4 separate regions of the Homo sapiens genome follow, and regions 1, 3 and 4 are each linked to region 2. Evidence: promoter capture Hi-C in 16 types of primary human blood cells and fetal thymus (Javierre and others, 2016). All regions are on one chromosome and are shown on one strand. Each heading gives the region's core, a stretch centred on a gene start or on the middle of the fragment in contact. The rest is flanking DNA. Distances are from core to core; before and after follow the strand shown. Region 1 holds the start of MAT2B (methionine adenosyltransferase 2 non-catalytic beta subunit). Region 2 holds the start of G3BP1 (G3BP stress granule assembly factor 1). Region 3 holds the start of HNRNPA0 (heterogeneous nuclear ribonucleoprotein A0). Region 4 overlaps NUDCD2 (NudC domain containing 2).

Evidence for each region. The method cuts DNA at HindIII sites, captures the fragments that hold promoters and counts their contacts. A CHiCAGO score of 5 or more calls a contact.
Region 1: the fragment with the promoter of MAT2B here is called in contact with the fragment with the promoter of G3BP1 in region 2 in 3 of 17 cell types (naive CD4 T cells, naive CD8 T cells and total CD4 T cells); the score reaches 10.6 in naive CD4 T cells.
Region 3: a contact is called between the fragment with the promoter of HNRNPA0 here and the fragment with the promoter of G3BP1 in region 2, in 3 of 17 cell types (total B cells, naive CD8 T cells and fetal thymus). The highest score is 8.3, in total B cells.
Region 4: a contact is called between a fragment that was not itself captured here and the fragment with the promoter of G3BP1 in region 2, in 1 of 17 cell types (fetal thymus). The highest score is 5.5, in fetal thymus.

Annotation. Positions count from the first base shown.
Region 1 is chr5:163,502,978-163,509,325 of GRCh38, forward strand. MAT2B (methionine adenosyltransferase 2 non-catalytic beta subunit) reads left to right here and starts at 2,642. Exons shown (of 7, transcript NM_013283.5): 1 at 2,642-2,772. The coding sequence starts at 2,710. RefSeq lists enhancers at 1-759, 95-144, 2,375-3,181, 2,399-2,488, 2,529-2,648 and a silencer at 2,819-2,958. The HindIII fragment of the contact is 7,455 bases long and covers 1-3,805 here.
Region 2 is chr5:151,769,200-151,775,457 of GRCh38, forward strand. It overlaps G3BP1 (G3BP stress granule assembly factor 1), which reads left to right and starts at 2,755. Exons shown (of 12, transcript NM_005754.3): 1 at 2,755-2,837. It overlaps LOC100652758 (a long non-coding RNA gene), which reads right to left and starts at 2,977. Exons shown (of 2, transcript NR_132345.1): 1 at 2,504-2,977; 2 at 594-1,573. RefSeq lists enhancers at 842-1,563, 1,942-2,171, 2,429-2,723 and silencers at 2,932-3,261, 3,312-3,381. The HindIII fragment of the contact is 14,997 bases long and covers 1-4,660 here.
Region 3 is chr5:137,753,000-137,759,707 of GRCh38, forward strand. HNRNPA0 (heterogeneous nuclear ribonucleoprotein A0) reads right to left here and starts at 1,364. Exons shown (of 1, transcript NM_006805.4): 1 at 1-1,364. The coding sequence starts at 1,067. The coding sequence ends at 150. RefSeq lists enhancers at 23-714, 124-283, 794-1,143, 1,405-2,096, 5,561-5,680 and a silencer at 1,724-2,083. The HindIII fragment of the contact is 5,253 bases long and covers 1-3,683 here.
Region 4 is chr5:163,455,578-163,459,777 of GRCh38, forward strand. NUDCD2 (NudC domain containing 2) reads right to left here. Exons shown (of 4, transcript NM_145266.6): 2 at 1,985-2,033; 3 at 1,352-1,503. It also overlaps a transcript of CCNG1 not described here. Among named protein-coding and RNA genes, the nearest start is that of NUDCD2, 2.4 kb to the right of the region's middle. The HindIII fragment of the contact is 252 bases long and covers 1,125-1,376 here.

The sequences.
Region 1 (6,348 bases), core at 1,392-3,891, about 12 Mb after region 2:
ACTGCATGATCTGTGTGCTTTCCAAAAGTGTGGCTCACTCTTCTTTTGCAAAAGAAAACTACAAGGAATCTTGACAGGAAGTTGTTGGGTTTTTGTTTTTGTTTTTGTTAAGTAGTTAGTTCTACCAAATAGTTTTGCAAATAGACCCAGGCTTGACTGGCAATTAAACATGAAACTTCTCATTGGGTATTTTCGAGACTACTACGGGGAATCAGCTACCAGCTTACTGCCATGTGGAGAACTGCACGAGATTCCGGGATTGGAATCAAAATGCTAATTTAAAAGGTCAAGTGAAGCTGCTCCTCACGTTTTGGCGTGCCTGCGCTCTCTGCAGGCAGAAGCGAACAAAGACCCAGCAAGAGAAGGCAGAGGCTAAGACCCATCCCGTATCTGCTCTCCTGAAATAATTCTGGAGTCATGCCTGAAATGCCAGAGGACATGGAGCAGGTAAGAACTAGCAATTCAAGAAATGAAGCATTCTAGAGTAAGAGATGCTTTAAAAGCATTCCAGTGAACGCCTGCTAAAACCAGAATTGTTGTGTAAAGAAAATAGAAACGGGTGTCATTCATTTCCTTAAAACATAACCTCGGGACATGGAAGAATAAGCCAACTTTAGTTACTGACCCGGAGAACCAGGTTATGAAGGGCTCAGCTAAGTCTCACTAGCTGACAATACAGAATTGCACTTTCATTTACCATTTTAAATGCAATTATGTATATAAAGTTTCTACATAAATAAGGATTTTATCTGTAGTGTGTTCCTTTCCAGATGTTCTTTGTCTTTGTATGAATTGAATCTGCTAACATAACTTTTAGTTTCAGGCTGCTCTCTTTAAATGTATAGACTTAGCCACCACACGAAGTTGTATATTGTCTATGTTAAGAATGGCGTTTGATTCGCATAGACCCTACCATCATTAAAGAAAATGATTAAAAACCATATCCAAACATATGCCCCTAGAACTGTACCCAACTTTTACGGGGAAAGTATCAAGTCAGATTTTCAAAAGCAGCCAAGTTAAATTCTTTCTGTTCCTCAAGACTAGGCTGCTCTGAGAATCAGAATGCTAATTGCATATGCTTGCCCTTAAACCTGCTTCACGTTGAAGAATGAAGAATTAATTTTCTTTTCTCCCATAGAAAGGTAAGATTACATCACGTGTTGCGACTAGAAACTTTAAACCGAATTCCCAGTTAAGAGAAAAAGTAGTAAGATGATCTTGGCTGCTCCCCCGGCCCTCTTCCCGCCCTCTTCTTTGTTGTCCCCTGATTATGCTTGTTTAGCGCTGGGGCAGTCCTCAAGGATTCCCTAAATAAAGCCAAACTAATGAACAGTAATAGCCTGTGTTTAAAAAAAAAAAAAATCGGAACATAAGAAACCTCAGGCTGTCTTCGATTACTGTTCTAGAGAAACTTTATGTTTACACGAATAAGGAAATGAGTTTTTGTTGGGGGTTGAGGAGGAAGGAAAGTCATGGTGTTCTGACGTGGAAAACTTCTTTAAAAGGCTGCTTAGTCTTTAGTTTGAAAATAAACCAAAAAGGTTTAGGAGTCGGGGAAAGGCCCTAGGAAAATCCAGACAGTGGTCACGTTTGTGGACGACGTTTAGAGCTTGCTATCCTGGGCACACAAGAACCCTTGGACTGTTCGGTGCAAAGTTGGCAAATCCTACACGGCCTGTGCCAGGGTTTACTTTCTGCATCAATTTCACAGGCGTCCAGCCTGGCTGAGGATTTTTTGCGGTTTTTAACTGGAAGGGAAATAAGTCGGCATCAGCACTTAGGGCTGCTTAACTTTTAAAAGGTGGTAGAACGCCCAGCCTTACACGCTGCTGCTTAAATTCTCGGTGCTCACCAAGGCTGGGCTCGTGTGGCCCAATCCTGCAATCCCCGAGGCGGTGTTTCTTAAAGAGTGGGCTTGATTCTGGTTAAACCCATTAAGAAGTCGGACCCCGGGCTCGTTTCTTGTTCTGTAATTATGGGTAAAGTCCAAGGATCTGCGTTTTGAAGAGGTACCTAAGTAGTTCATCTTCCTTCCCCCTACAACTTTTTATTTTTAATTAGTTAAAAATAGTTTTACATTTTTGATATCTCACACACAGGTTTTTTCTTTTTTTAAGCATCCCAGGAAGACAAATGGCTCAGACGCCAACCCTTTTATTTTTATTCCTTGTCTTTTTCTAAATCTTTCAAAACCCCCACCTAGAGCTCTAGAGATGTGTCCATTATGCTCTACCCACCTCCGCCCCCGCCCCCATGACTTTAAAATGCTTTTTATTCCACTTTTTATATTGCTCAGTCGATCCTCATGCACTGCGCAGTCTGCAAACTTGAAACTCAAGGCGATCCACTTCAATCTTTTCCCGAGTCAAGAAAAAAAGGAAAAAAAGTAGAATAAAAAGCACTCAAATAAAATCTCCGAAACAAAACCTGAATTCACTGCCTAAGGTCAGGGCCTTTCTTTTGTGTGTCGCTTTAAGCATCGGCGCGTGGGCTGGGGGCAGACCGCGCGTACCCGCCCTCTTTCTGGGGCGTCGGCGGAGCGTGGCCAATCAACGGGCGCGGCTATGGCAGCGGAAGCCGGAAGCGGCGAGCGGGGTCGTTCTGGGCCTAGGGGAGGCGGGCCGAGGGCGTCTGAGCTGAGGCCCGCGTCGATCCTGGGTTGGAGGAGGTGGCGGCCGCTGAGGCTGCGGCGTGAAGACGGCGGGCATGGTGGGGCGGGAGAAAGAGCTCTCTATACACTTTGTTCCCGGGAGCTGTCGGCTGGTGGAGGTGAGGGAGTCGGCCTGGGCGTCTCCGGTGGGAGCGGGGGCGCCGAGGGGGACGAGCCACCGGGGCTCGGGCGGCTTTGCAGGCGTATTCCGCCCGGGTCAGAGCCTCCGGCCGGGAGTGGTCTCACCGCCACCCTCCCAGCCCCGGATCCGAGGGGGGCGCCACCGAGTTTGTTTATCTCAGCGCACACGGGTCAGTGTTTTTTTCTTCCAGCCACTGCGGCAGGAAGCAAGTAGGTGGAGGTTTTACTTTCGAGTTCTGTCTCTGCTCCTGAGGACGAAGAGGTTTTTCAGAATTGTTTGTTTTGATTTTGGTTTTCCCCGTTTATTCATCTTTGGTTCGTATTTCTCGATCTTACAAGTTCGTAGGTTTGAGAAAGAACAGGAAAAGGTGACTTCTCACAAATAACAGTGCTGGAGATGACAACTTATTGAACTCTTAAGTTCTCAGCACTATGTTATGCACTTGACGGGCATTACTTTAATCCTCCACTGTGAGATACTTGTTATTGCCTCATTTTGTAGACGAGAAAACGGGCATAGAGGGTGAGACATTGGCCCAGGTTCATTCCGTAAGGTTGGAGCCTGGAATTCAGATACAGGTTTGTGTGACTGTCTTGGGCTTTGAACCACTACGGAGTTTCCCTGAAGGAAGATTATGGTGATGATTGGAAGATCCATCTCTGGTGCCCCCCTCGCCCCCGTCCCATCCTGCTCCATTCCACTTAAGGGCCTCCAGCATTAATCTGTCCACAGAACATATCCAACCCTGGGGATAAGAACACTACTAATGCCCAGACCATGTCTTTTGGAGAGAGTAGAGAATATAGGAGATGGCTGTTTCTGTTATTGCAAAGTTTTCATGCTTCCAAATTTACTTAGGGTTTTCAAATCACTTTGGTTCTTTGAGGGTAAAGTTAGGATAAATGGTCTATTAAACCTCTATGTTCCTAGGTCCTCCAGACCGTGCTGAGTGCATGTTACATACGTTTACATTTATATGTATGCATTTGTATGTGTACGTGTGCATATAAAGCTTAATCTACTTTCACAAAAAGAAGTTCAGTATAAAAATGAAAATAGCTTTTCGTGTTTTCCTTCATTAAAAATGAAACAACGAAGAGCTTGGCACAGACTTACTGCTCTCAAAACCTGTAGAATTAAAGCTTACTGACTCATGAGAACGAGAACTGTCTCATAGTTAACGTTAGAGAAGCATCCTGGAGTGGTTGTTGTTAGTAATACTGTCTGTGGAGCACAGTAGCGTCGCAGTAGAAGTTAGACCAATCCCACCTAAGTAGTCAGAGAATCTTAAAAAGTAAAGCCCAGTAATGTTTACCTTAAGGGTCTGTTTCTGGGGAATTAAAAAATTAAACATGGAACTGTGCCAAGTTTTAAAGTTTCCAAAAACGACAAGGTATTTACCACTGAAATTTGGGAAAACCACATACTAATAGTATTCCATTCTTTACTTTTCTAGAACATTTTTAGTAGACATTAATGCAGGTGTGCTAAAGTAGAAATCACTGTCCCAGAGTACTGTGTTGGACCATTTGGAAGGAGCCATGTATCTCCCATTACCTATACAATTTGGTATCATTCGATTAGATACGATAATAAGAATATTTATTTATATGTACTTAATTTTTCAAGAAATGTTTTTTTGGTGTCCATAAATCTGGTCCCTTGGAGTGATTGAATTCCGTACTTCAGAGTTTAGACAATAAGAGGCAGATACGTTTAGAGTAACTTAAACTGATATTAGATCTACTTTCCCCCATATAATAAAAATTGAGAAAAAGTAGACTTCAGGCAAAGTATTATCAACTCTTTATTGTGCCTTGAGTGAACTAGATAGCATTTTATTCTTTCATTCTGACTTTCTTAAAGTGTTTAGACATTTCTTCCTTGTGCACAACTAAAATAATTTATGGAGTGCAGGTCCAAAGTAGTTTTTAGAGGGATATTTCTTTTTCTAAAGAACGAACCAAAAAGCCTCAACAAAACAGTGTAAAAGGCAGAGTATTGCTTATATAGAAGCTCAAAAACAGAGATATTTGTTTGGCATATTTTAAATTTCGGAGTAATGCATATTCAGAGGAAAAGTTACCTTATTTAAGTAAACGAAACTATTCGGACTCCTCGTGGTAGGGATAATATGGAAAATGTTAGAAATATAGAACTTTAAAGCTGAAAGAGCCTTAGTCATTTTGTCTAAATGCCTTCCCCATTTACCAATGAGGAATTAGATCAATAGAGATAGAATAACTTCTAAACACCAATTTGTGGCAGAACAGATAAAACTTTAATCATTCATGAAACCAAATATTAGTTCACAGGATTGAGACAAAATGCAGTGTATTTGACTTGACCAGAGAAGCAAGACTCAGGTTCTGGTTCCAGCTTTTTCTCTTTTACTATAGACAAAACATTTAACACTGGACTTCTTGTTACTCTCTTTGGAAATAATATCTCTTCTAACAAGCTGCTGGGTTTTTTTGTTTTCTTTTTTTTCCTCTTGCTCTTTCACCCCGTCTGAAGTGCAGTGGCTCAATCTCTGCTCACTGCAACCTCTGCCTCCAGGGTTCAAGCGATTCTCCTGCCTCAGCCTCCCAAGTAGCTGAGATTATAGGCGCCCACCACCATGCCCGACTAGTTTTTCTATTTTTGGTAGAGACAGCGTTTCACCATGTTGGCCAGGCTGGTTTTGAACCCCTGACCTCAAGTGGTTGGTCCACCTTGGCCTCCCAAAGTGCTGGGATTACAGGCGTGAGCCCTGGCACCCGGCCTCAAACTGCTATTAAAAAAACAAAAACAGCTATGATTGTATACTTATATAACACGTTAGTTTTCTTTTTTTTGGTTTTTTTGTTTGTTTGTTTTTTTGAGATGAAGTCTAGCTCGTGTCCCCCAGGCTGGAGTGCAGTTGTGCGATCTCGGCTCACTACGACCTCCGCCTCCTGGGTTCGAGCGATTCTCCTGCCTCAGCCTCCCGAGTAGCTTAGATTACCTAAAATTACCTAGAAAAAAATATGAAACAGTGTACAGTACCCAGCAGTCAGGTGTCAGTGCTCAAGATTTTTATTAAGAGTGACGATCTGAAGTGCAAGCATTTACTGAAATGGAAATGATACTGCACAACATTTTATTTGAAAATTAACATGTTATAGGCCGGGCGTACTGGAGGCCTTACATAGTAACCCAGGGGTATAAGGATATAAAGTTGCATTTTCTCATACAACTCCACTTCCTTTTTTACGTTAAGGTATTATATTCCCTAAAGAGCCTTGTTCTTCTCTATACTTAATACTGCATCAACTCCAAGAAGCTCTTAATTAAAAGAAGATCATCTGGGCTCTTAAGTTGCATTAAGTTAGCAAAAACTACTGCAAAACTGTGACGATTCATAAGATTTTTTTTAAATTCATTTAACAGATGTTAAAATGAAACTGTACTTCACAGAGTCAGTGAAGTACACAGATCTTAATTCATTGTTTAGTAACTTTTGTGGATTGTATAATGCTTTGGCTTCTATTTCAAGTTTTCTTTTTTAAGGGGGAAAGATACTGTTGTCATT
Region 2 (6,258 bases), core at 1,505-4,004:
CCAGTTTCATTCAGCCAGATATTTCGGTTGTTTTCTGGCTCTTTCTACTACAAACAATTCTGCAATGACTATTAGTAACTCTGCAGAGTTTTCTTTTTTTTTTTTAAAGACGAAATTCTTTTTCTTTTTTTTTTTTTTTTGAGACAGAGTCTTACTTTGGTGCCCAAGCTGGAGTGCAGATCTCCGCTTGCCGCAACCTCTGCCTTCTGAGCTCAAGTGATTTTCCCACCTCAGCCTCCCAAAGTGCCGGGATTACAGGCGTGTGCCACCACATCCGGCTAGTTTTTGAATTTGTTTTGTAGAGACGGGGTTTCGCATGTTGCTCAGGCTGGTCGCGCAAACTCCTGACCTCAGGTGATCCACCCACCTCGTCCTCCCAAAATGCTGGGATTACATGCGTGAGCTACCGCGCCCGGCATGCTGCATAATATTCTATATTACGTGTATATCACTGTTAAAACAGCTTATCAATTGATGAACATTAAGTGTTCGGGTTTTAAATCTTCTAGCAATGCTGACAAAGCTGCAGTGAAAGTCTTGGCACATGCCTTTGTAAACAAATGTGGCTATCAACCAAGTGACATTATTGTTTTGGGGGATATGCACAATTTTATTAGATTTTTAAATTGCTGCTGGGCGCGGTGGCTCACGCCTGTTAATCTCAGCACTTTGCGAGGTCGAGGCAGGTGGATCACCTGAGGTCAGGAGTTCGAGACCAGCCTGGCCAACATGGTGAAACCCCGTCTCTACTAAAAATACAAAAAAATTAGCAGATCCTGGTGGCGCGCGCCTGTAATCCCAGCTACTAGGGAGGCTGAGGCAGGAGAATCGCTTGAACTCAGGAAGGCGGAGGTTGCAGTGAGCCGAGATCACGGCATTCCACTCCAGCCAGGGCGACAGAACGACGCTCCGTCTCAAAAAAAAAAAAAAAATTGCTTGGCAAAAAGATCTGTATCACTTAAAACTCCCTCCAAAAGTGAAGGGTAGCCATGTCCCTCATCGCGAGTCACCTGGGTTAAATTACTAATCTGTAAATGTTAAATTTCGCCAATCTTCTTAGTGTTTCAATTCGGAGAGTCATGTTGTGAAATGCCAATCTCTTAGTCCACCTTTTAAAAAACTTTGCAGGGGTTCTCCAAGGCCCTCAGAATAAAGTCCAGATTCCTTTGCAGAGCTAACAGGATACAGGAGACTCCCTGCTCCAGGAAACTTCTAGGGGCTTCTCTCCTGGGGCCTGTTCCCTGGTTTTGGGAGCGCTCGGGCGACCGCGAGCCAGAGCAGCGTCTCGCTCATCTCGGACCCAGGCCTGGGGCTCCACTGACGCCGACGGAGCCGGGCTGCTGCGGGAGTGGAGCCCTGGGGGACCAGAAGGGGCTTTCACTTCGCTCCTGGGCCTCCCGAGTTCCAGGCTCGGGCTAGCCCCGCGCAGGGAGGCGAGCGGGCCCGGCTCCCCAGAGGCCGAGGCCGGCGCCCGTGCTCCTTCAGCTCGGCCTCTCTCCCCCGACATAGGCGCTCCACATGCTTCATTTCCAAAATTCTCAGCAAAACTCCGCGGGAGACCCTGGTCACATGCCTGGAACGAGAACAAACCGGGGCGTGTCTGTGCCGGACGGCTGGGAACCAAAGCTATTTCCATAGAAATAGGGCCGGCCAGCCTTGAGTTGTAGCCCCGCCAGTGCCTGAAACGCCAGGAGGAGGGGACGAGTTGCCTTTTAAAGGCGTAGCGACGAGAATAAGCCCCCACCCGCGGCAATTCGAGGCTGAACAATAGTGGTGCAGCTCGGGACGTGGTGCGAGGGCCCACACTCCACTGGAGCACGCGCGGACCACCGTGCCTCAGCTGCCACAAAGGGAGCCTCGCCACACGCCCGCGGCCGCCTCGCAGCGCCCGCCAAGAAGCGCCTGGCGGAAGGGCGCACTCTCAGGCCTTCCACCGGCGACCTTCCGGCGGGAGCCTGCGGGCGGCGCAGGAACGACCCTCCTTCCTCTGCCCCGCAGCAGTGCTGAGTAATGGTGAGAGCAGCAAGGCCCTTGGCCGCCGCACGTAAGAAAAAAGTTGTAATAAAAAGAAAACAACCCGGGAAACTTTACTAGTTGGTTCGCCAGGTACAAACCTATGCGGAAAAGGCGGGGTACAGGCCTCGGAGGCCGGACCCAACCAGTCAGGGAAAGAAAGAGGGCAGAAGCCGCAGGCTGCACAGCCTCACAACCGCCCAGAGGGCACGGCGGCCCTGGGGCTCGGTCTCTTCCGAGCAGAGCAACCTCCGTGTCTATCAGCTCCTTCCGGCGTTGCGATTGGCCACAGGCTGTCTTGGCCTCTCGGACGCCCGCCTCCTAGTTGCTAGGGGTTTACTTCCCCAAAGTACACGGGCCCCACCTTGTGGCGCAACCGCTCCTGCATGGAAAACGGATCTCCGCCCAGGGGAAGACGTGTTAACGAATAAGAGCAGCCCCACACATTTATTGGCTACTTTGAGTATCAGTCAAAGAACTGCTCACTCGCCTTTCTATTGTACTTTTCGGTTATTGGTCTCTCTTAGTGCCGATCTGTTACTAGGGAAACGAGATCCTCACAGTCTCATAGGCAGGAGTCAAAGCCAATCAAGAGCCACGCCTTCATCCCCGAGTCAGTGCCCAATTACTGTTCGAAGAGCCCTGAGGACGCGGTCGGGATTGGTCATCCCGTCGCCCGACCTGGCCGCAACAAGTTAGGGTGAGTGGCAGTTATATAGACCGGCGGCGGAGCACGCGTGTGTGCGGACGCAGTTGCGTGAGGGGTTTGTACTATCCTCGGTGCTGTGGTGCAGAGCTAGTTCCTCTCCAGCTCAGCCGCGTAGGTACGCCGGGGTGTGGGCGGGGCAGGGAGGCCAGAGGACTAAGCCGAGCCGCAGCACTTGTGAGAGGGAGAAGTCTGAGTGGCGCTCGCGGCGGCCGCGCCAGTCGCGTCCCCCACCCCAACCCCCACCCCAACGGCCGCAGGCGCGCGCGGCGGACGGACGGGCGCGCGGCGGCTCCTCGCTCCCGCTCCCGTCCCGGCTGGGGCGCGTGGCCGTGTCCGCCGCGTGCGCGTGCTGCGTCCAACGGCCTCGCGGGGCAGGAGTAAGCCGCGGCCGCCGCCTGGGCCCCAGGGCGGTCTCTGGGGCCAGGGGTCCCGCGCCCAGCGTTTCCCGCCCGCCACCCTCTCCGCCACGCGCCCGCGGCACCTTTTCCTCCCCTGGCCAAGGGATCCAGTCGGTTCGGACCAGAAGGAGGCTTTCGTTTAGGGTGGGGGCAGCACTAAAGTCTGATTGGAGTCTTGCGGTCCGCGCGTCGCAGAAGCGCCTTCGGTTTTGCAGAGAGCAAAGAGGGAGCAGCGAGTGCACGGAGTGGTAGTAACAACCAATGTTCTTTCCACGCCCTCACTGTGTGTCCGGCACTGTGCGGAGCCACTTTTCTGCCTTTCATTTGATTCTTGCAGTGAGCTGGCGAGGTGGGTACGGCTATCCTCCTTCCTTAGCGGCCCAAGGCACGGGTTTGGAGAGCGGGGTCACAGGCACGCACGGGAAGGGCGGGGATTTGTTGACGCCGGGCCCTCTGACTCCGAGCTCCCCGCTTCCCAAGCCTGTTTTTAGTCTTTGCCCCCAGAGCACTTGTCCCTCGGGGCAGCATCAGCCTCAAAAGGCCACCTGCCGAGAAGGCTGCAGCGGCATTTGTACTTGGGCTAGTTCTGGGCTTCCAGGGAGACAAGGGTTGGAAGTGGGAATGTGACAAAGGAAAAGGGTTTGGGCTTCCTTTCTACGTGTACTTGTACAGGCCCTGGGTAGATGTGCCGCCACCGTAGCTTCTGGAAAAAAGTAGGGAAAACGATGAGTAAGTGCAAATGAACATGGACTGTGTTCCTCATCGGGTTTGAATCTCAGATTGCTGATGGGAAATTCCCGCCAGCGGGAAGTTAGGCTCCGGTTTTAGACGTTGAATTTTTTTTTCTCTACTTTTTTTTTAATTGGAGGAGACTTTTGCAGAAAGACCTTGAGAAGATTCACTTTATAGTTGAAGGGAATGAGGTGCAAAGCGACGAATTTAAGATCTCACTAGCATCTGTGGGTTAAAATACGGAATTGGAATAGAAAGGTTGGCGCCCAGTTACAGTATACTATTTGGACCTCTGTGGAGCGTGTCATGCTGGATGAATTACTGGTGTTGGAGATGTGTTGGAAAAAACAACTGTGACAGTCGAGATCTGTGGATGAAAGTTTGTGTACACTCCGTTTATTTAGCATTTACTCTGCTGGGTTCTTGTGTATATGCAGAAACAAGATGCTTTTCTTCAGGGACTGGAGCTTATATTTTTCTAGTAGTTACCATCTTTTAGATTATTTAAAAGCCAACATACTCCTTGGCTTAGTGAAATAAATCTTCTATGTTATAGAAACACTTCTATAAACATAAAGATTTCTATAATCGTGTTCTGGAAACCCTTTCTATAAACATGTTTCTATAACAGTATTATAATAATGTTCCAAGTAACATTTACTTGGAACTTTGCTGGTGTGGCGATTCCGGTTACTTGCCCTTACAGACTGGTTAACTATGGAATTAGCATTTTAACTTAGACTTAAAGTTGAGCAATTTAAGTTGTCAAATGGAAAAACACTAGAATGACCTACATTTAAACTGTTTAAGCTTGAGTCCAGCTAATTTTATTACTGCTTGAGGCAAAATAGAATGAAATTACCTTACACATTATTGAGGGAAAATTTCGTTAGTTTCTACTTAAAATATTAAAAAAATACAGTTCTTGGCCTCAGGCAAATGGTTATCACTTGGGCAGGAACATGAAAATTACGTGATTATTTCACAAACTGGTGCTCTAACTGATTACTTGTGCATTTATCAGGAACAAGTGAATTGAAGCAAATTGTGGTAATGTAAGGCTTGGCAAGGCTGCCCTACATCCCTACCAAGTCATACGTCAGTTTTGTTGGAGCTGCTTACCGGTACAAAAGTCTAAGCTTTTGTACCTCTTACAGGTAGAAAAGTAGACAGTTCTTTGTTTAACTCAGTTTGCTGTTCCTGAGCTGACACTGCACCAGGGGAACATTAGGAGATTTTGGTAATGTTTGTTTGTGACCTACTTAGAGCAGTTTTTCTTTTGTAACTTATGGTTTTTTTTTTTCCCACTCGTTCTAGTATTTTGCATAGAAAGTGAACGGCAGAAGGCAGTTTTAAGTTTTTGTAAAAGTTTGTGAATTTTATATCGTCCTTAGGACTGATGGGGCTAGTGTTAAAAGATAAAATTTAACATAAAGCTTACATTTGTGACTAAAGCCAATTTTATATTTTTTTTCTTTATTTTTGTCAGTCTGATAAAACTGCCCACTTGGTCTTTTAACATTTTGCAAATTGATTTTTTTTTTAACTTTCAGAATTTAAATAGGCATTGTATGTTTGTTTAATTATATTGTGCTTTGGCTTCCTTGGACGAAACTATTACTGACTTTACAAAGAAGAATGGATAATTGTGGAAGTAGGTAGGTCAAAAAAAAAAAGGAAAGCCTCGCCCGCCCCCCAGTAATTTGTCAAAAGCAAGTGGGAAAAATCTCTGGTAGTGCAGTACTGCCCTTCCAGTACTCCAGTACAAGCCCTGGAGTTGAATTTAGATTCAGCAACTATTATCTTACATGTAGTTGGTGATCACAATGTGGTGGCACACTAGGTTTATAATTTTATATCTCAGAAATCAGCTATTTACTTTTTTTAAAAAAGTATTCTTGGACATCCTGTCTGTCTTTAGTTGGGAAGGTCAAGTTGCAAGCCAGGTGATAGGGTTAAGAGTAGGAATAATTCACACACACGAATAGTGTCTTAATATTCTGTCTTACAAGGTGGAAAGCAATTTCAAAAAAATTGCCCTCACAGCCTGTAGCTTAGTAAATAAGGTCTTTAGGCGACTTTGTGATAGAGTCCCTCTTCTGTCAGGTGGCCAGTCTGTCATGTAATAAGTTCTTGGTATGTGTGTTGTATCTTAGGTACTTAATCAAAAGTAAAGATTAAAGATGATTGACAGAAATTTGGCTTCCTGGATGGTATACACATCTACTTAGTAGGGATGTAATCTTTGGTGGCTATTAACTTCACTGGCTATATAAAGCATCATTATGTATTTGTGTAACCTTTTGCATATTTAGAGAGTGCTTTCACACATCTTTGGTATTACCATACTTTTACTAAAAAGTGAATTGGAGCTCTGAAACCGAATTGTCAAAACTATTTTGAAAA
Region 3 (6,708 bases), core at 114-2,613, about 14 Mb before region 2:
CCAAGGGTAAGCAGCCTTAGAAGTGGCTCCCCCAAGGGCAAAACAGGGAAGGCGGTGTGTGTGAGGGGGTGGGGCTTAGGAGTTGACCCCACTTGGGCTGTTGGAAAGAGCTACCCCTATAGCCACTCCCAGGCATTTTAAATTTTCTTTTAGAAGGAGCTGCCTCCATAGCCACCCCCACCGCCATAGCCGCCTCTGTAAGGTCCACTATTACTGCGACCGCCCCAGCTACTGCCTCCACCGCCGCCGCCGCCGCCGCTCTTCATGGGCCCATAGGAGGACTGATGCTGGCTGTAGCTGCCGAAGCCGCCGAAGCCGTTACCGTAGTCGCTCCCACCGTAGGACGAACCGCCGCCGCCGCCTCCGTAGGCATTGTAGCCGCCGCCTCCGCCGCCGCCGTAACCACCGTAGCTGTTGTAACCGCCGCCGCCGCCCTTGGAAAGGCCGTTCTGGTCTCGACCACCGCCGCGCCCCCGGCCGCCTCGGCCGCCCCGGGAGGATCGGGAGCCGCCTCCACCCCCACCGGAGTAGATATCCTCCTTGGGGACTGCTTTCTTCACCTCCACGCGATGGCCCTGAATCGGATGGAACTTGACCACCGCGGCCTTGTCTGCCGCGTCGTGATTCTGGAAATACACGAAGCCGAATCCACGCTTCTTGCCGGACTGCTTGTCGGCAATAATCTCGGCCTTTTCCACGGTGCCAAACTGCGAGAAGTGCTCGATCAGGTCGCCCTCAGCCACGTCTCCTTTAAGGCCTCCGACAAAGAGCTTCTTAACCTTGGCGTGGGCACCGGGCCGCGCCGAATCCTCCCGGGACACCGCCCGCTTCAGCTCCACAGTGTTGCCGTCCACGGCATGGGGCGAGGCGGCCATGGCGGCGTCCGCCTCCTCCACATTGGAGTAGGTCACGAAGCCAAAGCAACGGGAGCGCTTGGTCTGGGGATTCACCACCACCACGCAGTCCGTCAGAGTCCCAAAGGCCTCAAAGTGGCCGCGCAGGCCCGACTCACTCGTCTGCACATTGAGGCCGCCGATGAACAGCTTACACAACTGAGAATTCTCCATCTCCAAGGCCCGGGCCTTGCCCCCGCCCTGCGAGCTCCGAGGTTTCGCCGTCGCCGCCGTTATCGTTGGTTAAGGCCTCTACACAGCTTGGGCCCAGCCGTTGCTGGAGCCACCCCCGCCGCTCACCGACGGGGAAGGGAAAAAGGGAAGGGGAGGGAAGGAAGGAAGAGAGGAAGGGGGAGGGAAGGGGAGCGGTGCCGGCTAAAGGGCGAGCCGAGGAGACTGGAAGACAACCAAGGCCACCGCTACCGCCGCCGCCGCCACCTCCGCTCCCCTATCTGGGCACCACACAAAGAGGCCGCTGAACGCGCGCGCACCCTCCCCGAGGCGTGCGTCACCGCCGACGTACGGCAGCCTAGGGCTACCAGCCAATCCCCGCCTCGCTCCCCTTAATCCCGCCTACCGCGCCGCAGCGCCGCTCTAGATCACGGACTCCCCGCCCTCCGCGGTCTATTCAAGCCCGCGGCCTGTGCCGCTCCCGCTTCCGCTTCTGCCAGCCCACTTTCATTCCCGAGCGCCCCACTGTCCCTTGACATGGGTCCCTCCCTGCCCTCCGCGCACCACCGCGATTCATTTCCTCCTAGCACCGCGGCTGTTCCCAGTGTTTCTCCCCCTCCCCTTTACTCATCCCCTCGCCCAACTCCGCAGTGGCGTTCGCGCCAGCCCCTTGAGAGACATCTGAGTTCAGCCAATCACCGTGATCCCCTCGCACCCACTTCCGTTTTCGGCAGCTGTTGGACGGGCGCGCTCCCCGGTGCGCGCTTGCCCCGGCGCCCCCGGCGTGCAGAGCCGGCCTACCACCCCCGCGCCTTCTCCCGCCCAGGGCTTTGCCGGGGAGAGAGCAGGGGGCGCGCTGGGGGCCATTCCCAACGGATGCGGTCTGGGGCGCCACGCGCGGGCTTTTTGAAAACTTGACTGTTGGGGTTGGGGGCCCGGATCTACCCGCCGCCTCTCCGCTTGTCCGCTACACCTGGCGTCCCCGCCCCACCTCCCGCCCGCACAAAGATGGAGGGCAGAGGCCTGGTCCACGAAGGCGGTTATTAACCGTTTACAGTGGGCCCGACGTGCGGTTAAACTAAAACTTTGCCACGTGGCCCTGCGCAAAAGCGAGCCCGAGGCGGCGGTGTGAAAGACAACAGGGAACCAAAAGAACTTCAGACATTAGGAACCAGACGAGGCGCGACATCCCTGCCTCCCTGCCACCCTCCCGCCCTCCTTGAAGCCCTCCCACGATGCCCTCTCAGAGGAGGCCCTTTCAGGTCCCCTTGGCACACTCCAGCAGACATTTTCATTTAACCTCAGTGAATGGTTTTTTATGTGTAATTTACATCATCTATGTGTTGCTTTCTTTGAACTAGAATGTTAGCTTTTTTGTTGTTGTTGAGATGGAGTTTCACTCTTGTTGCCCAGGCTGTAGTGCACTGGCGCAATCTCGGCTCAGCAACCTCCGCCTCCTGGGTTCAAGCTGTTCTCCTGCCTCAGCCTCCTGAGTAGCTGAGATTACAGGCGCCCACCACCACACCCGGCTAATTTTTGTATTTTAGCAGAGATGGGGTTTCACCATGTTGGTCAGACTGGTCTCAAACTCCTGACCTTAGGTGATCCATCTGCCTCGGCCTCCCAAAGTGCTGGGTTACAGGCGTGAGCCACCGCGCCTGGCCTAGAATGTTAACTTTGCTTTTTTTTTTTTTTTTTTGAGACGGAGTCTTGCCTAAGCTGGAATGCAATGGCACGATCTTGGTTCACTGCAACCTCCACCTCCCGGGTTCAAGCGATTCTCCTGCCTCAGCCTCCCAAGTAGCTGGGACTACAGGCGGGCACCACCACACCTGGCTAATGTTTGTATTTTTAGTGGAGACGGGATTTCACCATGTTGGTCAGGATGGTCTCAAACTCGTGACCTAGTGATCTGCCCGCCTCGGCCTCCCAAAAGTAGAATGTTAGCTTTTTAAAGATGTTGGGTTAGACGAATGTTTTACAGAGAGAGAGATCATATACCCCTAAGTTACTGCTTTTAGTGCCCTCACTCAGATGGGAATGGAAGAAAATTACAATGGCTTCCATTTATTGAGCCTTTGTGTGCCAAGCAAGATAAATGGGGTGGGACATAGTTAATATGAGGCATTACGTGACCAAAAGCCTCCAAAACCATATGGTAAACGCTGAAGAAGTTAAGAGGAATTCCTCACTGTATCCTCAAGTATTCAGGAAAGATTTAGGAAAGAATTGGAAGTTGCACTGAACCTCAGAGCCAAAGACTAGTTAGTATCCTAAGCAAATTAAGGCTGGAACAGAAAACCAAATACCACAAGTTCTCACTTATAAGTGGGAGCTACACATTGAGTACACATGGACACAAAAGAAGGGAACATTAGACATCAGGTCTTTTTTAAGGATGGAGGGTGGGAGGAGGGTGAGGACTAAAAAGCTACCTATCAGGTATTATGCTGATGACTTGGGTGACAAAATTATCTATACACCAAACCCCCAAGACTAACAATTTACCCACATAACAAACCTCCACGCGTATCCCTTGAACCTAAAATAAAAGTTGGAAAGGAAAAAAAAAAAGATTTCTGTAGGGAGTTTATTTGAGCAAAATCCAGAGGGAACATAAGCTTCAAGAGACAGGGAGTGGGCCAGTTAGTTTGAGAGAAGCAGGCAGTTTTAGATAGAAAATAGTGAGAGGTAAGATAGGTTGAGGGTCTTTGGTACTATGAAATGATACTATGGAATGTGCTGAATCTTAGGTTAAGTAGTTTGGATACTGTAACAAAGGTAAATAGATGGGCTAAGGTTTGAGGGTAAACTAGTCTGATCTATCACTTACCCTGTAACCATTCAGTTATGTGACTTTGGCTAAGTTACTTAACCTTTTAAAAAAATGTAATCAGTTTTATTATCTTAAAATGGGAATAATAAAACATCTTTCTGTTGTAGTGAAAATTAAATAAGATTCTACATGTAAACATGTATACATGCCTGGTACACAGTAAGTGCTCAGTTTATCCAATTATATGAATCCTATGCCTGGTGCTGGCAATATGGCTGTAAACAACAGACAAAAACCTCTGCCCTCATGATGCTTACATTCTAGTGGGAAGAAGCAGACAATAAACAAATAAGAGTGGTATATGGCATGTTAGATAGTGATAAATGACATTAAAAAAATGAAAGAGGACAGTAGAAAGCTATTAACCTTGTTATTACAAAAAAAATTCAAATGTCAGGATTTGCCTATTGATAATAAAGAAAGGGGAAAATGGGCTGGGCACAGTGGCTCGTGCCTGTAATCCCTGCACTGTGGGGGGGCTGAGGCAGGCGGATCACTTGAGGTCAGGAGCTCAAGACCAGCATGGCTAACAAATTGAAACCCCGTGTGTGGTGGCGCATGCCTGTAGTCCCAGCTACTTGGGAGGCTGAAGCAGGAGAATTGCTTGAACCCAGAAGGCAGATGCTGCTGTTGTTAGCTGAGATGGCACCACTGTTTCAGAGTCATCCAAATCTTAAAACAGTAAAAGATGAACTCCTGAAGGAATAAAGACCATAACTTATGAAAACTGTTACTTTAGGAATTTACAATTTTGGTAGATAGTTTTTGCCTACATTGTTTTTAAATAATAGTTTACCAGCAGTGCCCAACTTTTCTGGCACAAGAGACCTATTTTGTGAAAAACAATTTTTCCACAGACCAGGATGTAGTTTCAGGATGATTCAAGTGCATTACATTTAATGTGCACTTTATTTCTATTATTATTGCATCATAATATTCAATGAAATATAATAATTATACAACTCACCGTAACGTAGAATCAGTGGAAGGCTTGAGCTTGTTTTCCCGCAACTAGCCGGTTCCCATCTGGGGGTGATGGGAGACAGTGACACCCGAAGTGTGTTGCTTATGTCCAGTTTACTCCATAATCTAGTTTTGGTTGCTGTCACTGCAGAAAACCCTGCTTCACAAATATAGGATGCTGGAAATGGAAGCAGGCTTTTCAGTGCTTTTGTGGCAATCTCAGGATATTCCATCCAGAATGTATGGAGATTTGAAGTTGTCTCAAACATACAAGGCTGCCGTCACTTGCAATCTCAAGCAGTTGATCCTCTTCTAGTATCGACAAAGTCAATTCTTCTGGCTTATTCACAAATGGGTGGTGGATCCATTCCTTCCCAGCTCAGGGATTTTTTTGTGGTTGGCAAGTAAAGCTCAAACTCTTTTGAAAGCTGAGCTAGGTGATCATGCAGCAGCTGGGAGAAAGAAGGCGTTGGCTCAGTCACTTTCAAAATCTCTGCTAATGTTTGAAACATGTCAGAAATCCCAATGTTCACTCATCGCCCCCATAACTCCAGTTTGGTTTTCAATGCAGCCCCTTTATCTGCTGATTTGAACACAGTTGTCATTCTCCCCTGAAGTGACAGATTGAATTCACTGAGCAGGTTGAATGTGTCACACAAGTAAACAAGTTTTGCCACCCATTCTATGTCACTGAAATGTGCTGCTAGTGGTGACTGTTTTTGTAAAAGAAATCTCTGGAGTGGCTCTCATAACTCAAAAATTCTGGCCAGTTATCTACCTTTAGAAAGCCATCTCATTTCTTATACACATCTCACAGAGTTGCGCAAACAGACATTGAGTTAAGGGCATGCACTTTAATGTCATTGATAATTTTAATCACATCCTGTAAAACCTTAAGTTCGGGTGACAATTTTCGGCTACCCGGCATTTCTCTGTAGATGACACAGTGCATAGACTCACATTCAGAAGTGACCTCTTTGACCTGAGTAGTGAAACCAGAAAGCCATCCAGTCATATCAGCCACTCTGTCTGTGCATATACTGACACAAAATGACCAATTCCGTTTTTCTGATATGTAATCAAAGTCTTGAATAGTTCTGCACCTGTGGTGTTGGTTGGCAACAAAAGTGCACATAACATATTCCCCTGCACATCCTCCTGAAAAAGATATGGCACAAAAACAAGCATTGTTGTCTTGTCAACATCAGTAGACTCATTAACCTGGATTGCATACCATGGTGACTCATTAATCCTAACAATTGTGCCCCAATATCCTCTGTATTTCATCACTTTGTCTAGTTATGGTACTAGCCGAAAAAGGAACATGTGTCACCTTTTGAACTTCAGCCTCTCCTAAAAGTTCATGATAAATGTCCTTAGCAGCAGGCAGGAACAATTCTTCACCAACGGTAAAGGGCTTCTTAGCTTTAGCAATGCAGTTAGCCACTAAGAATGATGCTCTCAGTGCAGATACATTTGATGAAGTGGTGGCCTTCAATAATTGCTTCTGGTTTTTTGTTTGCTTGTTTTTGAGACAGGGTCTTTCTCTTTCACCCAGGCTGGAGTGCAGTGGTGCAATCTTGGCTCACTGCAACCTCTGCCTCCTGGGTTCAAGTGATTCTCATGCCTCAGCCTCCCGAGTAGCTGGGACTACAGGTGCGTACCACCACACCCAGCTAATTTTTGTATTTTCAGTAGAGACGGAGTTTCACCATATTGACCAGGCTGGTCTCAAACTCTTGGCCTCAAGCAATCCACCCACCTCAGCCTCCCAAAGTGCTGGGATTACAGGTGTGAGCCACCATGCCTGGCCAGTTGCTTCTGTTCTTTGTGTTCATTTGAAAA
Region 4 (4,200 bases), core at 1-2,500, about 12 Mb after region 2:
ACGGTGAAACCCCACCTCTACTAAAAATACAAAAAAATTAGCCGTGCGTGGTGGCGGGAGCCTACAGTCCCAGCTACTCGGGAGGCTGAGGCAGGAGACTGGCGGGAATCCGGGAGGCGGAGCTTGCAGTCAGCAGAGATCGCACCACTCCATCTCAGAAAAAAAAAAAAAAAAAGAACTGCTCTAACTGCTATTTTGAGAAGACTATGGCAAGAGTAAAAGTGAGAAGACCAATTAGAACGTTATTAGAGTAATCAGGCAAGACATTAGAGGTGGTCCAGATCAGAATGGTGGTAGAGTTGGTGGTGAAAAGTGGCCAAATTCTAAATATATTTCGAAGGTAGCATCAGTAAGATTTCCTAATACATTGGATAGGGTATGAGAAAGATGTAAGAATCAAAGATGAGTCCCAATTTTTTTTGACCTGAACTACTAGTTTTCATCAACTGAGATGAAAAGGCTACAGGTAAAAACAAATATGGAAGGATGTTAGGGTGTTCAACTTGGACATGTTGAGCTTAATATACATTAGATAGCCAGGTGGAGATGTTGAATAGGCAACCGGGTATGCAGGTCCTAAATTCAGAAAAAAAGTCTAGGCTAGAGATATACATCTGGAAATCATTATCATAAAGACGTACATTATCAAGTGCTGCAATCTAGCAATTCCTCTCCTAGATATTTATCTTAAAGATATCTTAGAACACTTGAGTAGTTTCACAGAGATGAAAGCACAGCTTTCTTTAAAATAGAGAAAAATGAAGAAATCTAAATCATATCAAAGGCAAACAGCCAAATAATGATGACACATCCAAACTACAGAATCCTCTGAAGCAGTTAAAAAGAATGAGTTTTATACCTATGTATTAGTAGGGAAAGAGACCCACAGCATATTATTAAATAAAAAAGCAACAAGAAGAACAATACACACAGTGTGATCCTCCATTTATGCTAAAAAACAAAACAAAACAAGCAATAGCCAACATATGAGATGAAAATGAGATAGATGCATGGAATGGGGAGAATGGTGGTGAAGGGGCCTTTCACTTTTTACACTAGGTAAGTCTATATTGATTCAACTATAGTAAGAGTTTATTCATGCATTACTGATGTACATAAAAGTAAGCTTAAACTCACAAATCACAGCAATACAAATAAATTCCTCTCAAGAAAATCTTCCGAAAAATCAAATCCATACAAGAAAGGCCATTTTTCTAACAATTCACTTTAAAAATTCTTCTAGAAAATGTTTGTAACTTTTCATAATGACATTTGAGTTTTAATTTCAAATATTTATTTGATGATTTTTATATATTTAATTACACATACTCATACACTTCATCTGACTTACTTCTTTTTGGAATCTCTCTAATGTAAGCTTTCTCTGCATTTGGTCTTGCACCCAAGGATCCGCTGCATATTCAGATTCTAGTAGAGAAGTCCAACAATTTGCTGCATCTCTCTTTGTCTTTGTAAGAACAATACGAACCATTTTTCTGTCCTCTAAAAAAAAAACACACACACACACACGCACAAATAAATTAGAGTTCTTCATCAAGTTGTTTTTTTTTTTTTTGAGACAGTATCACTCTCACCCAGGCTGGAGTGCAGCGGCTTGATCTCGGCTCACTGAAACCTCCGCCCCCCGGGTTCAAGTGATTCTCCTGCCTCAGCCTCCCGACTAGCTGGGAATACAGGCATGCGCCACCATGCCCGGCTAACTTTTGTATTTTTAGTATAAACGGGGTTTTGCCATGTTGGCCAGGGTGGTCTCAAGAAGTTCTTCATTAAATTTTATATTTCCAAAAACAACTAACTAATTTTTTCTCCCCCCACTAGGTAACTTTGACATACAACGGTTTTCAACACATTTCTATTGCTTTATCTTTCAAAGCTGCAAAGACAAAAAAGACCTAATACAAAAGAGGAAAAGATATCAAGACAAAATTATTTTAATTTGATGAATTATAGTAATTACCCTTACCCAAAGTCCATGTTCCCTCATCAGCTATTGTAGAATCAAAGAGTTTGCCCTGAAAAATAAACATATAAGGTGCTAAAAATACAGAATTTAATTTTTATAAAGTTTTCATGATTAAGATTTACCTACTTTCCTACCTAATCCACATCTTATACCACCACTTCACCATGACATTTATAGGTGCACAACCCTAAATTTTCTCCCAGCAGGTAAAATGGAAACTAGTTTACACTGCAAGGGATATTTACTATGGCAAAGAACACAGAGCTCTCTAAAGAAAGATCAGGGCTCCTTAATTTTTAGAAGATACAGTAATACTGACCACTGGCCAAATGTGAAATTAATATCTGAAATGCTTTAATTCTACCAATTTAAATTAACCACAAGAAGGGATCTCCTGCTAAAACTAAAAAATGTTGTCTTTTTTTTTTTTTTTTTTTTTTTTTTTGAGACAGAGTTTCGCTCTGTCGCCCAGGCTGCAGTGGCACGATCTGGCTCACTGCAACCTCCACCTCCAGGGTTCAAGCGATTCTCCTGCCTCAACCTCCCAAGTAGCTAGGACTACAGGCGCCCGCCACCACGCCCGGCTAATTTTTGTATTTTTAGTAGAGATGGGGTTTCCCCGTGTTAGCCAGGCTGGTCTCGAACTCCTGACCTTGTGATCCGCCCGCCTAGGCCTTCCAAAGTGCCAGGATTACAGGCATGAGCTACCGCACCCGGCAAAATGTTGTTTTTAAAGTAAACTTTTAAAAACGTTTTAATCTTTTTGTTGGGCAATCGGCATTAAAAAAACTTTACGTATTCCAGATTTGATAGATTAGTTGTGACTAACTGTTCACAAACTCATGTTTTTTAAAAAAATAAACAAAATATAAATTTAAAAGAGACTGCACCAGGCCCAGTAGCTCAGGCCTGTAATCCCAGGACTTTGGAGGCCAACGTGGATTGCTTGACCCCATGGGTTTGAGGCTGCTGTGAGCTACAATCTCACCCCTGCACCCCAGCATGGGAGACAGGGACCCTGTCTCAATAAATATATATTTTTTTTTAAAGAGAGAATGCCTAAACTCAAATCCATTTTAATTTGTTGCCAAATTTAAGTTATAGAAAGTGAAATTAAATGTCACTAGGAAAAGCCCACATTTTAAAATATGTCAAAATTAGTGAGAAAAAAATCCCACTGGTCTATACGTACATCAGAAATCCCAAATTCAGCAGCTACTGCTAAATTCCGAAAGTTACTGGATTTACTAATTTATAATCGTAATCTAAAACCATTGTTGAGGAAACTATGAATTGTACAATTCAGAAAAGTAACTGAGATCCAAGCTGACATAATGTCTTTCACACGAATCTTGAGGCACTCAAAGCACCTCCATATACTGTAATATATATAATAGCTAATAGCTAACATATAGTATGAACTTATTACATACCAGTGAATACTCCAAGCTCTTCATACACGTGAATACCATGTTAAGCTCAAAACAATCCCATGAGAAGGGTACTATAACTACCTTATCTTGTGGATAAGGAAGATATAGAGACACTGAACAATCTCTCGCCCAAGTTTACAAAACTAGGAAACAAGTAGTCTCCCTTCACCATATTACACTGCCATCAAACATCTTGGGCATCTAACCTGAGAACTAAATCTAATTTCAACCTGTTAGTTTAATTATACACTTAACAAAGAAAAAGCGGGTCCAGATCCAAAGAGCATTGGTGAAAAGAAATAAAAGGAGTACTACTTATTTTATGCACACACCTCTTCACCACCTGCTTGACCACTCCACAAACATGCAGGATTTTCAAGCTTTTAGATGAGAAAACTAATCACCTGACATCATCTCTAAATTCTCTGCCCGTTATTCTATCCCTATTTTCTTTGTTGTCCTTTCCTATATTTATCTATTTATGAATTACGCTTCCGTACAGGAGCTTAACCTCTCCACTGCAGGTACGTTATCTGTTGTCTTCCTGCCTGTCTTCAGTGCACGGAAGAAATATTTGTTCCTTTAGCAACCTAGTTAATCTGTTCCCAGCTGAAGCCCGTCAGAGAAGCAGAAGCAGCAGTCTTAGTTTGAAAACTAAACACGAAAATAGGCTCCTCAAATTTCCACAACTCAGCACCTGCCCTGAAGAGGCGGGGGCTCTGACCAGACCCAAACCTGGTCAGTGTTATCCTCTTTCTCTTTCTGCCAGCCACAGGAGCCGTC